2 separate regions of the Homo sapiens genome follow, and region 1 is linked to region 2. The links are contacts of gene promoters, found by promoter capture Hi-C in blood cells and fetal thymus (Javierre and others, 2016). All regions are on one chromosome and are shown on one strand. Each heading gives the region's core, a stretch centred on a gene start or on the middle of the fragment in contact. The rest is flanking DNA. Distances are from core to core; before and after follow the strand shown. Region 1 has its middle 13 kb from the start of PARD6B. Region 2 holds the start of CEBPB (CCAAT enhancer binding protein beta).

Region 1 (6,623 bases), core at 2,188-4,687, 530 kb before region 2:
TCTCTCTGTGTGTGTGTGTCTGTCTGTCTGTCTGTTTCTGTGTCTATTTTTATAAGGGCACCAGCGATTGGATTTAGGACTACTCTAATGACCTAATTTTAATTTTTTTTTTTTTTTTGAGGTGAAGTCTTGCTCTGTCGCCCAGGCTGGAATGCAGTGGCATGATCTCGGCTCACTGCAACCTCCACCTCCTGGGTTCAAGTGATTCTCCTGCCTCAGCCTCCTAAGTAGCTGGGACTGCAGGTGCTTGCTACCACACCCAGCTAAATTTTTGTGCTTTTAGTAGAGATGGGGTTTCGCCATGTTGGCCAGGCTGGTCTCGAACTCCTGACCTCAGGTGACCTACCCACCTTGGCCTCCCAAAGTGCTGGAATTACAGGTGTAAGCCACCATGCCAGGCCTGACCTCATTTTAGTTTTATTACATCTGCAAAGGCCCTATGTCCTAATAAGTTCTCACTCCCAGGTACTGGAGATTAAGACTTTAACCTATCTTTTTGGGGAACACAATTCAGTCTACAACAGGAACATACTGATGGAGTAATAATCAAAATTCTTCTATAATACTGATCACAGTGGCTGGGAACACTGTGCTATGCATTTCACAAGCGTTCCATCCTCACAACTATTTGGTGTTAATACACCATGTTTATATTGTTCAAAAAAAAGAAGAGCAGGCCGGGCACGGTGGCTCACGCCTGCAATCCCAGCACTTTGGGAGGCCAAGGCAGGCGGATCACGAGGTCAGGAGATCTAGACCATCCTGGCTAACACAGTGAAACCCCGTCTCCACTAAAAATACAAAACATTAGCTGGGCGTGGTGGCGGGCGCCTGCAGACCCAGCTACTCGGGAGGCTGAGGCAGGAGAATGGTGTGAACCCAGGAGGTGGAGCTTGTGGTGAGTCGAGATGGTGCCACTGTACTCCAGCCTGGGCAACAGAGCAAGACTCCATCTCAAAAAAAAAAAAAAAAAAAAAAGAAGAGCAGACTGAGTCTTGAAGAGGTGAGGCTTCCTGCTCAGAGCCTTGTCATCAAGGCAGAAACTTGTCCAGAAAGCACAGTTGAGGCAGGAGAAGGAAGAGGAAACAGAATAGTGAAATGCTTGGAGCAAGGACTCTGGAGTCATACTTGGGTTCAAGTCCTGATTCTGCCACTAGGGGAAGTGAGCTGGCCTTCCTGACTCAGTTTCTTCATCTGTAAAATGGGGATAATAATGGTACCTATTCCTTGGATTTTTCATAAGGATCCAATGAGATATTTTTAAGGGGTTTGATATAGTGCCTAGTATTATACATAGTAAGCTCTCAAAAAATTGTCACTATAATTCATATTATTCAACTATTTGGGTGTTTTTTTTTTTTTTTTTTTTTTAGAGACAGTCTCACTCTGTTGCCCAGACAGGAGTGCAGTGGCACAATCACAGCTCACTGCAGCCTTGACTTCCCAGGCCCAAGCGATCCTCTCACCTCAGCCCCCCAAAGTAGCTGGGACCCCAGGCATGTGCCACCATGTCCACCTAATTTTATTTATTTTTTTGTAGAGATGGAGTCTCACTATGTTGCCCAGGCTGGCCTCAGCTCCTGGGTTCAAGCGATCCACCTGCCTCTGCCTCCCACAGTGCTGGGATTACAGGCAGGAGCCACCACACCAGGCTCTTCAACTATTAAGAGACAGAGGAGGAGTGGACAGATAAGCAAAAACCATTGTGGGCATTCACGCAAGGGGAGGAGACTATTATCATCCCCATTTTAACCTTTAAGTTACGTGTCGCCTGAAAATTGAGGAAGAAGAAAAGTCTGAAGGATTTGTTGAAAAGCTCTTTGCCTGGCACTTAATAAATTCTCTTAATGGCTGTCCCGTGACTGGCCAGGACATGTATTTGGAACTTTGGGAAACAAGTCAGTGTAGTGATAGGAATAAAAGGCATATCATGGGCCCCTGCAGAGTGGATATTGAGGAAATGAGGACCATAGTTACAAATGGCAAGGAATCAACCATGGCTGGAGGCAGCCACGAATAGAAACAGAAAAGATGAAGGAGCATTAAAATGTGCAGGTGTTGGCCAGTCGTGGTGGCTCATACCTGTAATCCCAGCACTTTGGGAGGCTGAAGCAAGCAGATCACAAGGTCAGGAGTTCAAGACCAGCCTGGCCAATACAGTGAAACCCCGTCTGTACCAAAAATACAAAAAATTAGCCGGGCATGGTGGCAGGAGCCTGTAATCCCAGCTACTTGGGAGGCTGAGACAGGAGAATTATTTGAACCTGGGAGGTGGAGGTTGCAGTGAGCCAAGATCATGCCCGGGCGACAGTGGGAGACTCCGTCTAAAAAAAAAAAATGTGCAGGTGTTGTTTCTAAAGGTACATGTAGGCTGGGCTTGGTGGCTCATGCTTGTAATCCCAACACTTTGAGAGGCCAAAGTGGGAGGACTCCTTGAGCCTAGAGGTTCGAGACCAGCCTGGGCAACACAGTGAGACCCCATCTTAATTAATAAATAAAAAATTATTTTAAAATTAAAAACAGATAAATAAAATAAAGGTACATATACACTCTCATTTCATCTTTTTTTTTTTTTTTTTGAGATGGAGTCTAACTGTCACCCAGGCTGGAGTGCAGTAGTGCCATGTCGGCTCACTGCAACTCCCGCCTCCTAGGTTAAAGTGATTATTGTGCCTCAGCCTCCTGAGTAGCTGGGATTACAGGCACGTACCACCATGCCTAGCTAATTTTTATATTTTTTGGTAGAGACAGAGTTTCACTATGTTGGCCAGGCTGGTCTCGAACTCTTGACCTCAAGTGATCCGCCCACCTCGGCCTCCCAAAGTGCTGGGATTACAGGCACGAGCCACCACACCCGGCCTCTCATTTCATCTTAAGGTGATGGGCACATATCAGTTTGCTTGTGACTTTCCCAGTTATAGTCCTGAGAGTCCCAAGAAACCTTCCAGTCCCTTGTATACCCTATTTTATCTTCATCAAAACATATGGATTTAGGTACTGTTATCATCCTCAATTTATAGATTGGAAATAAAGGCACAGAGACGTTAAATAGCTTGGCCAGCATCACACAGATAAGTGGCAGAGCTGTGTGGTATTGAAACCCAAGCAGTTGGGTTCCAGAGTCCTTACCCTTTTATATTGCCTTTTTTATGGTCAAATGAATTTCTATTATTAGTTTAAAACTTTCTTCCTTCACGAAATACATCATTTTATTTGGGACCAGAAAGCTTGCCTGTGTCTTTTTCCTCCTGCCCCGAGATAATCCTACAGGTAAAAAGTCAGTTAAGAGTCAGGTTGCAATGCTTGTTGGCTTCCAGGAGCCTTCTAGAAACATGATATCCTCCCGGGGATCTGCCCCACAGCCCCAGCGTCTGATCCGAATTCCTCATGGGAATTTTTAAGGAGGAGGAAGAGTGGTTAACCATGGAGAAGAGTTTCCAAAATGAAAATAAACCAATAAACAACATGACTTGTTAACGGAGATCCAGTGACTTCGCCTTTTTAAGTTCAACACGAAGGCGGGGAGAACGAAATCATTTATAGAACTCTTATCTCCCCCAGGAGATATTTAAGAAGTGAACATATTTTCTGAAATTTAAAGGAATGCCAAGTTTATGTAAAATTATACCAATGATGACAGAAGCTTGAGAACAACAACAAAGCCAGCCAGAGTTGATGCCCACGCTTTCAGGCTGAGAAACACAGAAGAGGACAGAAGAGGGCAGCATGAACGTCATGCAAGTGGGGTGATGGGGAGCAAGGCAGGGAGTCTCTCTGAGCTGGGAGAGCTTGGACAGGGGACCTCACCTTTCTGGCTCTCTAAAATTAGATGCAGGGCCAGGCACAGTGGCTCACACCTGGAATCCCAGCACTCTGGGAGGTCAAGGTGGAAGGATCACTTGAGCCCAGGCGTTTGAGACTAGCCTAGGCCACATAGTGAGACCTCATCTCTGCAAAATTAGCCAGGTGTGGTAACACACACTTGTATTCCAAGCTCTTCGGGAAGCTTAGGTGGGAGGATCACTTGAGCTTGGGAGGTCGAGGCTGCAGTGAGCTGTGATCATGTCACTGCACTCCAGCGTGGGTGACAAGAGGGAGAGCCTGTCTCAAAAATAAATAAATAAAAAGTAAAATAAAATGAGACACTGAGAGTAGCTACTCCAAAGAGTTGTACTAAGAATTCTACCAAACTGGGTGTGGCGGCTCACACCTGGAATCCCAGCACTTTGGGAAGCTGAGGAGAGGATTGCTTGAGTTCAGGAGTTTGAGACCAGCCTGGGCAACATGGTGAAATCCCATCCCTACAAAAGATACAAAAATTAGCCAGGCGTGGTGTTGCATGACTGTAGTCCCAGCTAACTGGGAGGCTGAGGAAGGAGGATCACTTAAACCCAGGAGGTTGAGGCCACAGTGAGCTATGTTTGTGCCACTGCACTCCAGCCTGGACAACACAGTGAGACCCTGTCTCAAACAAACAAACAAAAAACACACACAGGAAAAAAAGAAAAAATGGAATTCCACTAGCGCTGGGCATGCTGGCTCATGTGTGTAATCCCAGCACTTTGAGGGGCTGGTGTGGGAGGATTGCTTGAGCCCAGAATTTTGAGGCTGCAGTGAGCTATGATTGTGCCACTGTAGTCCAGCCTGGGTGACAGAGCAAGACCCTGTTTCTTTCTTTCTCTTCCTTTCTTTCTTTCTTTTCTTTTCTTTCTCTTCTTTCCTTTCTTTCCTTTTTCTTTCTTTCTTTTTTTTTTTTTTTTTGAGACAGAATTTTGCTCTTGTCGCCCAGGCTGGAGTGTAATGGCACAATCTCTGCTCACTGCAACCTCTGCCTCCTGGGTTCAAGTGATTCTTCTGCCTCAGCCTCCCTAGTAGCTGGGATTACAGGTGCCTGCTACCACTCCCAGCTAATTTTTATATTTTTAGTAGAGATGGGGTTTCACCATGTTGGCCAGACTAGTCTCAAACTCCTGACCTCAAGTGATCCACCCACCTCAGCCTCCCAAAGTGCTGGGATTACAGGCATGAGCCACCACGCCCAGCCAACCCTGTTTCTTAAAAAAAAAAAAAAAGAAAAAAGAAAAGCATCCCAACAGCTAATAAAGATCTTAACACTGTTTCTGGCACATGGCACATGCTGAATAAATGGTATCTGTCACTGGTCCAGACTTCTCTGGGTTTCTATTTTGGCTTGTGATTAGAGACAGCCCCAAGCTTGTGTTCATCAAAGGCTCACTGTGTCAGGCCCAAGCTAAGGGTTCTACACACATTTTGCTATTTAATCCTCACCTTAATCCAGGTACTATTATTATTATGATCCCATTTGCAGATGTGAAATTGACACTTTAGAGGGGAGAATAAATAGGTTTGCCTAAAAGATTTATGCCAAGAAGAATGGGAGTAGCCTGGGATGAGGACTGAGGGCTACTCTGACATTGCTTTCTACTGCACAACTTTGCAGGAAAAAAAAATGCAATTTTCATATTCCAGGTGCCTTTTTTTTTTTTTTTTTTTGAGATGGAGTCTCACTCTGTCACCCAGGCTGGAGTGCAGTGGCACCATCTCGGCTCACTGCAATCTCCTCCTCCTGGGTTCAAGCGATTCTCCTGCCTCAACCTCCTAAGTAGCTGGGATTACAGGTGCGCACCACCATGCCCGGCTAATTTTTGTATTTTTACTAGAGACGGGGTTTCGCCATGTTGACCAGGCTGGTCTCAAACTCCTGACCTCAGGTGATCCGCCTGCCTCAGCCTCCTAAAGTGCTGGGATTACAGGCGTGAGCCACCGCACCTGGCCCCAGGTGCCTTTAAGTTTAAAGGGACCTACTTGTTTCTGGAAAGTGCCAGTGGGAATTTCCAAAACGGAGCAAGGTGTGCCTGGAACTTTTCTTGAGTGGGGCATCTTTGCTCCTGTTTAGAGGCAGAAACTTTAGGTGGAAGGTGTTTCCTGCACAGTTGAAGCACTTCAAGGTAGTTGAGGAACTTGTACCCTAGGGCTAAATCCTGCTCACTCTTCAGTTTCATCATCCCAGGGTAAGTGTGTTCAAAAGCCTCCACTTCAAACAGTAGTCCTTGACTGGATGTGGTGACTCACACCTGTAATCCCAATACTTTGGGAGGCTGAGGCAAGAGTGCAAGACCAGCCTGGGCAACCCCCTGTCTCTACAAAAAATTAAAAAATTAGCCAGGTGTGGTGGCATTCGACTGTCGTCCCAGCTACTCAGGAGGCTGAGATGGGAGGATTGCTTGAGCCAGGGAGGTTGAGGCTGCAATGAGCCATGACCGCACCACTGTACTCCAGTGAGACCCTGTCTCAAAACAAAACCCAAAAACCAGCAGTCCTTAAAATAGGATGTTTGTGCATATGGGCTGTGTTTTTCCTGTTACTTGGTGAAAATGGTAAGGAGAATGTTTATCTTAGTCTACTAACCTAGTCTGAGTTTTAAAATCACGAGCAGTAAATATTGCTTGTTATTTATATGTGGCTCTTTTTGGTATTTTTTTTTCTTTGTTGATCAGTTCTATGACTTGGGGGAGAAAGGTCTCCCACCTCCATCTTTAAAATCAGAAGGGTGCAGGTTTAGTGATGTGCATATCAAGTCTGGTGATGAACTTGACATCCTA
Region 2 (6,666 bases), core at 3,640-6,139:
CTTCTCACTCCCACTCCAGCTTCTGCCATTCTTAGCTGTGCAAACTTAAGACAGGTCAGTTCACCTCTCTAAGCTGGTTTGCACAGCAGCAAAATGCTAGTAACAAAAGCTGCAGCCTCCAAAAGGCTAATGAGTTGATTAAACCAAGGAGCACAGTGTCAGTGTGGAACCGGCACCCAGCAGTGTCTCGAGCGTTCATTTCTGACATCCACTTATCTCCTTGCTAAAATCACCAGGCCGTGGGACAATTGCATAAGATTATGAGGTGTGAATGTGTCTTGTTTTGTGAACTCTCTTGTCCTGAGCAAACATTAGTTGGGGTTCCAGGCTCCCACCTCCCAGCTAGCCTCAGTGGTCAAACACACTAAATGGGTCTGTGGTTAACATGACCGGCTTTCTCCCACATATCTAAGGACCCAGCACCTCCCTCTGTGCCAAGGGCTTGGAGTGGTGCTTTGCACATCTAAGCCCTTGTCTCACACCTGCTATTATCATGATTCCTCAAGGCTCGTCCCTGGCCTCCTGGGCTCGCCTCACCCCATCCCACCCCCTCCTGTTTCTGGATGTCGGAATGGACTGGTTCCTCCCTGCGAGCCCTTCACCCTTGCAGCTTGGTGAACTGTGGGGTTGGTGTTGCCCTAACTATGACATCTCCCCAAGTCCTTTGGGCACAGCTCCGTCCACAGTGCTCCCATACCAAGCCACCGTCAAAGCCCTCAACCTGTGAACTGCTTCTCCCAGCCCTCCTTAGAGGCAGCCCAAGGGGTTCAGGTTCAAATTCACTTTCTGTTGCTTCCAAACTGTGAAACTGATGTTTGCAGTTCTGGGGCTTGGAGTGCCTGAACTTGAGGTCAGGCAAGGAGCCCTCCAAGAAGAGCCTGGGATTTTAAACAGGAACTGGGATTACAAACCAGGCTCCCAGCCCCAAACTTTCCCCATAGACTTGGGAGTCGGATGGTTTTGTAACCTGCTCCACCTAGCCCACCTTGAGCACAAACCTCACTTCTGTGGACCTCAATGTGTGCTTTTAGAAATGGGTCTAGCACCTTCTGTGGGGTACTGTGGATGAGAGCAAGATGTGAGTGTGTGAAGAACTGACTCAACGCTGGTTCCAGGACAGCACTGGGGAAACAGAAGCGAAGCTGTGGGGCAGACGGGGGCGGAAGAGGGGCACCGTCTGGCCAGGCTGCTTCCCTCTCACCTCATTTGGGTGAGCAGTGGCCACCAGCCAACTCTTGGTGACAAAGGAGGGAGCAGGGATTTGAGATTTGTTCCTCAATTTCGACCCTCTCCACCTCCCTCCTTCCCTAGGTCCAGCCCCTCAGCCTCTGCCTTCAGCAAGTAAATCCTTGAGGTCAAGCCCACATTGCTGTCGCTGCTACTGACAGAAACCATCGAGACCAGTGGGGCTTGGGACTGAACTGACTTCGAGGCTTTGAAGGCATGCCCGGCCAGTTGTCCAGTTGCCCAGGGCTGGGAGGGGACGTGGTCAGGGCCACGCTGCAGGTCCCAGGTTGAAGTGAGGTTATCTGTGTCCAGCAATCTGCATAGCCCTCGAGCCACCATCAGGAGACACTGGCATTAGGGAGGTGGAGCTTATAGGAATCCTCCGCTTTGTGGCGGTGGGGGATGAGTGTCGCTGTCTGTTCCCCACATCCCAGGCTCCCACAGGGAAAGCACAACCAGGCCCCCAAAAGGAAAAGGAGGGGCAAAGCATTTCCCATTCGCGAACCACGGTATCAGCAACTGCTCCTGAGATCCCAGACCGCCCCAGGTCCTTGGCAAACCAGGCTACGATGCCTGCTGCCCCTGAATTCCTCAGGGCAGGGCAACCCCCAACCAGTGTCTTGCCCATAGGGATCGGACAGCCCAAAGCTGCTCCCCACCTCTAAAAACAGGCGTCATAACAATCCCCACCTTCCCAAAGGTTATTGTGAGGTCTAAATGGGATGGGGCAGGTCCAGTGTTTACCAGATGCCGGCCCCTGGCAAGTACTGGCCACACTGGCGCTGCACTGGAGACTGGGGTGCCAAATGCCAGCAGCTTCCCAGCAAAAAATAATAACAAGAGCAAGCGCTTATATAACACTTCTTGCGTGCCAGGCACTGTGGGACGCTGTACATGTATCCACTCACATCCATCTACATCCTCAACTCTCAGGAATGCCATCCAGGGCTGGATGGGAGTAGGGGGTGCGGTGAGAAGCCGGAAGGGGCAAAGGGATCAGTGGGCAGGGAAGAGGAGCCTGTCCCAGGGAATCAGGGCTAGCAGCCCCACGTTTGTGCCTGGGCTCAGCCACCTTGAGCAGGCAGGTGAGGTGGGCTCAGTGTCCAAGTCTGGGCAAAGAGAGCAAGTGATGAGCCTCCCATCCTCAGGAAAGGTAATCAAAGTGTGGGAACCCCTCCCCCACCTCTCTCCACCTGGCCTGGCCTCTCCCCTCCTGCTGGCCAGGGACACACAAACACAGACTCGCCCACACACCCAGGCTCCCCTCTTTAAAATACACATGTATACACAAACTGTGTTTTAAACAACCCACCCCACTACACTGACCAAAAGCATCTGCCCTGACTCGGGCTCAGCAGGACCAAGACCTGAACCCCCTCCTCCTACAGTCACAGGCCTGCCTACCTAGTCCCCAAACACAGGGCAGGGGTCACAGACCTCCCAGCCCTTCCAAACCCAAGCCTGACACTCGGGACCAGCCAGAGGCTCCGGAATCTCTTCTCAAGCAGGGTTCCCAGCCACCCGTCCCGGCGCCTAGGGGCTCTGAGTCAGCCTGAATGCCTGACCCATTACTCTTCTCCCCTTTCCCCCGGGGCTGGAACCCCATCTCAAGCAGACCCTGTGTGTGTGGGAGGGGGAGTAGCAGAGGAGGCAGAAAAACCAGCTGCAACACCCCCACCCAACCACCAAAACCTCCAAAAATAACAGCAGCCCCCCACACACAACCCCCTACACACCAGAAACGCAAAAACAAAATCCTACAAATCCAAAATAAAGTAAAAAAATAAAAAACAAAAGCCAATTACTGCCCCCAAAAGGCTTTGTAACCATTCTCAAAAAAAAGTTTATTAAAAGTGTTCTTAATGCTTGAAACGGAAAAGATTCCCAAAATATACAGACGCCTCTTTTCTCATAGAAATAGATTATTTTTTATAATACAAAAAAAGACCAAAAAACAAAACAAAACAAAACATCAACAGCAACAAGCCCGTAGGAACATCTTTAAGCGATTACTCAGGGCCCGGCTGACAGTTACACGTGGGTTGCGTCAGTCCCGTGTACACACGCGTTCAGCCATGTTTAAACCGATTGCATCAACTTCGAAACCGGCCCGCCCGCCGGCGCCTGGAGAGGGGCAGAGGGAGAAGCAGAGAGTTTATCATTCATCTGTACACATAGACGTTTCTTCTTTAAATAACACCACGGGCGGGAGCCCCATCTGCATGTGCGGTTGGTTTGGACAAAAATATAGATATATATATATAATAAAATATTAAAATTACCGACGGGCTCCCCGCGCTGCCAAGTGCCCCAGTGCCAAAGTTTTGCCGGCGCCGCCGGGGGCGGGGGCGAGGGCGCGGGCGCGGGCGCTCCCCGGAGTCTCAGCCCCGGCCGGCAGGGGGACGCGCGCGGGGGCCGCGCTAGCAGTGGCCGGAGGAGGCGAGCAGGGGCTCGGGCAGCTGCTTGAACAAGTTCCGCAGGGTGCTGAGCTCGCGCGACAGCTGCTCCACCTTCTTCTGCAGCCGCTCGTTCTCGGCCGTGAGCTCCAGGACCTTGTGCTGCGTCTCCAGGTTGCGCATCTTGGCCTTGTCGCGGCTCTTGCGCACGGCGATGTTGTTGCGCTCGCGCCGGATCTTGTACTCGTCGCTGTGCTTGTCCACGGTCTTCTTGGCCTTGCTCTTGACCTGCGAGGGCGCCGGCGCGGCCCCCGCGTAGCAGGCGGTCGGGGGCGCCTTGGCGTCAGCGGGGCTCGGCGTGCCGGGCGGGCTGGACGAGGAGGACGTGGAGAGGCTCCCGCTGCTGCCGCTCGGCACCGCCTGGTAGCCGAGGTAAGCGCGCAGCGCGTACGGGAAGCCCGCCGCCATGCCTGCGCCGCCGCCCGGCGCCCCGGCCTCCTCCTTCCGCTTGCAGTCCGCGGGCTCGAAGCCCGGCTCCGCCTTGAGCTCGGCGGGCGGCGGCGGCGGCGGGGGCGGTGGGTGCAGGGGCGCGAAGCAGCCGGGGTGCAGCGCGCCCTTGGCGGCCCCCAGGCGCCCCAGGCTCACGTAGCCGTACTCGGCCGGCTTCTTGCAGTTCTTGCCCCCGTAGTCGTCGGAGAAGAGGTCGGAGAGGAAGTCGTGGTGCTGCCCGGAGGAGGCGGGCGCGGGGGCGGGCGCGGGCGGAGCCGCCTCGAAGGTGTCCGTGGCCGTGGCGGGCGCCGGGGCCTGCGGCGCGCCCAGCGGCTCCAGGTACGGGCTGAAGTCGATGGCGCGCTCGTGGTCGCCGATGCTGCCCAGCTCGCCGGCGGGGGGGCGCGGCCCGGGTCTGGCCGCGGGGGGCGCCGCGGGGGCCGCCTTGCCGCCGTACGCAGCAGCCAAGCAGTCCGCCTCGTAGTAGAAGTTGGCCACTTCCATGGATTTAAAGGCAGGCGGCGGCGGCGGCAGGGGGAGACATGCTGGGTCCCAGGCCACCAGGCGTTGCATGAACGCGGGTGCCCGGGGAGGGGGCCTGGGGCTGCCCGCTCCGGCCGGCCCGCAGGTGGCGCGGCCTCCCTGCTCTGAGCTGTCGCCGCTGCGTCGCTGCTGCTGCTGCCGCCGCTGCCGGGGTGGCCGCTATTAGTGAGGGGGCTGGTGGCTGGACCCTCGGGTGGGTCCCCTTCCCAGTCCCGTGCGCGGCTCTGACTCGCTAAAGTTTCTCCTGAGCCCGGTTATTTATAAGGGCGGCCCGTAGCAACCGCTGCGTCACGCCGGCCCCTCCCGCCGCGCCGCCGGGACGCGAAGGACACGGCCGCGGCCGCCCGAGACCCCCGGGAGGACGGCGGCAGGGCGCAGCGGAGGGACCGGGCACCCGGAGCGCGTTTTCGGGGGGCCCCCGGGACGCAGGGGCGGCCTCACGCCCCCTGCCCACCCCCGCCCGGCCGCCCCGGGATTGGGAGCGAGAGGGGGCGGTGCGACCCCGCCCCCGGACCGCCCCTCTGGGCTGGAGGCTGTCCTGGAAGGCGGGGGAATCGGAGGAGGGGGCGACCTGATCGCCTTCCCCCCGAGACGCGGCCCCGGCCCGCCCCCTGCTGGAGGAGGCGGAGGTTTCAGGAGGGCCGAGCAGAGCCCCGACGGCCGACCAGGGTCGGCTCCCCGGGCCGAACCCTGGAGACCCCAGCCCGCAGCTCTAGCTCCAGGAGAAGCGACCCATCTCCGTGGCCCTTCCTCCCGTAAACTCCCACCTCCTCCCCAGGTCCCCGGCTTTAGAAAGAAGACTTGACGCCTGTGACGACTCCCCTCTTAAGCCACAGACAATATGAGGACCCCGGGGGTCGGCGCGACCGGGCAGGATCGCGCCCCGCTTGGGGCTGGACCCTGGTCCACGGAGCCCCGCCCCTAGCCCCGCCCACCACACCTGCCGCCTGCTCGAGGCTTGGACACGCCCGGGTCTTCTCTTGCCCCGCGCTGCGCCACCCGACCTGGGCCCTGGGATGGGGCAGGGGCGGGGGGTGCTCGGCCCTGCCACACTGTGTGACCTTGGGTGAGTCACTTCACTTCTCCCAGCTGCAATCCATGAAGGGTGTCGCTACTGTCAGTGGTGGTGGCATTGTTCCCACCAGACTCCCAAACCTAAGGCTTACGTTGTGGGCTGCACATCAGAGAGAACGGGACCCCCACGGATTGTGCCAGTGGAGGCCCAGAGAGAGCATGGCGTGGCATACCAAGGTCACATGGCCGCATGTCCCCCATTCATCCCAAATGAAATGCCCTCATCTGAGCCCTAAGACCTATTGCCAGTCCCAGAGGCCAAAAACTTCTGTTTCTGAAGTTGCTAGGGAGGGACTTAAGCGAGGCCTCACGGGAGGGGGTGGTATGCAGGAAAGAGAAGGAAAGAGAAAGATAAGTTTTTACCAAGTCCCTGCCCTGTGCTTACGGTGGGCCTGCACCCCGAGGTTCAACTTTTTTCACCCCACCAGGAAGATGCTTTTGCTGCTGCCATTTCACAGACGGGAAAGCGACAACGGCCCGCCTGGACTTGAACACAGGCCCAAGGCCTTCTGACCACTTGCCCGCCTCTGCTGGGTAGGCTCAGGTTAGAGGGCCCTTTGCCCTCCCGGACCCATTCCTAGGCCATTGGGGCAGCTCCCTGGGCCCACCTCTCTGCCACTCCTAGCCCAGGCCACCTAGGCAGGAGCTCCCAGCCTGCCCGGGGCTGATCCCCAGCCCACTGACCCCAGCCCTGGCCCCAGCGGGCAGGCGGGCATTGCTCAACCTTTGGTGTTATCTGCTGAGCTGGGGTGACCTCCGCCCCCAAGAGCTGGAGAAATGACATCTCTGGGCACCCTTGGTGGGTAGGAGGCAGGGAGGGAGGGGATAAAACACTGGCCCAGCCTGCTGGCTTTCTGGGTCTTCCCAGCAGCCTCTGGGTTGGGGAGGGATCAAGGCCCAGAGGGGTGCGGCAGCTTCCCTAGGGCCACCCGGCCAG

What was found. Contacts are between HindIII fragments. The CHiCAGO score rates a contact against its expected background, and 5 or more counts as called.
Region 1: a contact is called between a fragment that was not itself captured here and the fragment with the promoter of CEBPB in region 2, in 1 of 17 cell types (naive B cells). The highest score is 5.7, in naive B cells.

The regions. Positions count from the first base shown.
Region 1 is chr20:50,715,313-50,721,935 of GRCh38, reverse strand. No RefSeq gene overlaps it. Among named protein-coding and RNA genes, the nearest start is that of PARD6B, 13 kb to the left of the region's middle. The HindIII fragment of the contact is 416 bases long and covers 3,230-3,645 here.
Region 2 is chr20:50,189,053-50,195,718 of GRCh38, reverse strand. It overlaps CEBPB (CCAAT enhancer binding protein beta), which reads right to left and starts at 4,889. Exons shown (of 1, transcript NM_005194.4): 1 at 3,051-4,889. The coding sequence starts at 4,685. The coding sequence ends at 3,648. CEBPB-AS1 (CEBPB antisense RNA 1) reads left to right here and starts at 3,650. Exons shown (of 7, transcript NR_125739.1): 1 at 3,650-4,055; 2 at 4,297-4,451; 3 at 5,434-5,721; 4 at 6,158-6,263. RefSeq lists an enhancer at 1,621-2,182 and silencers at 3,547-3,656, 4,077-4,516, 4,657-4,866, 4,693-4,987, 4,947-5,356. The HindIII fragment of the contact is 16,423 bases long and covers 1-6,666 here.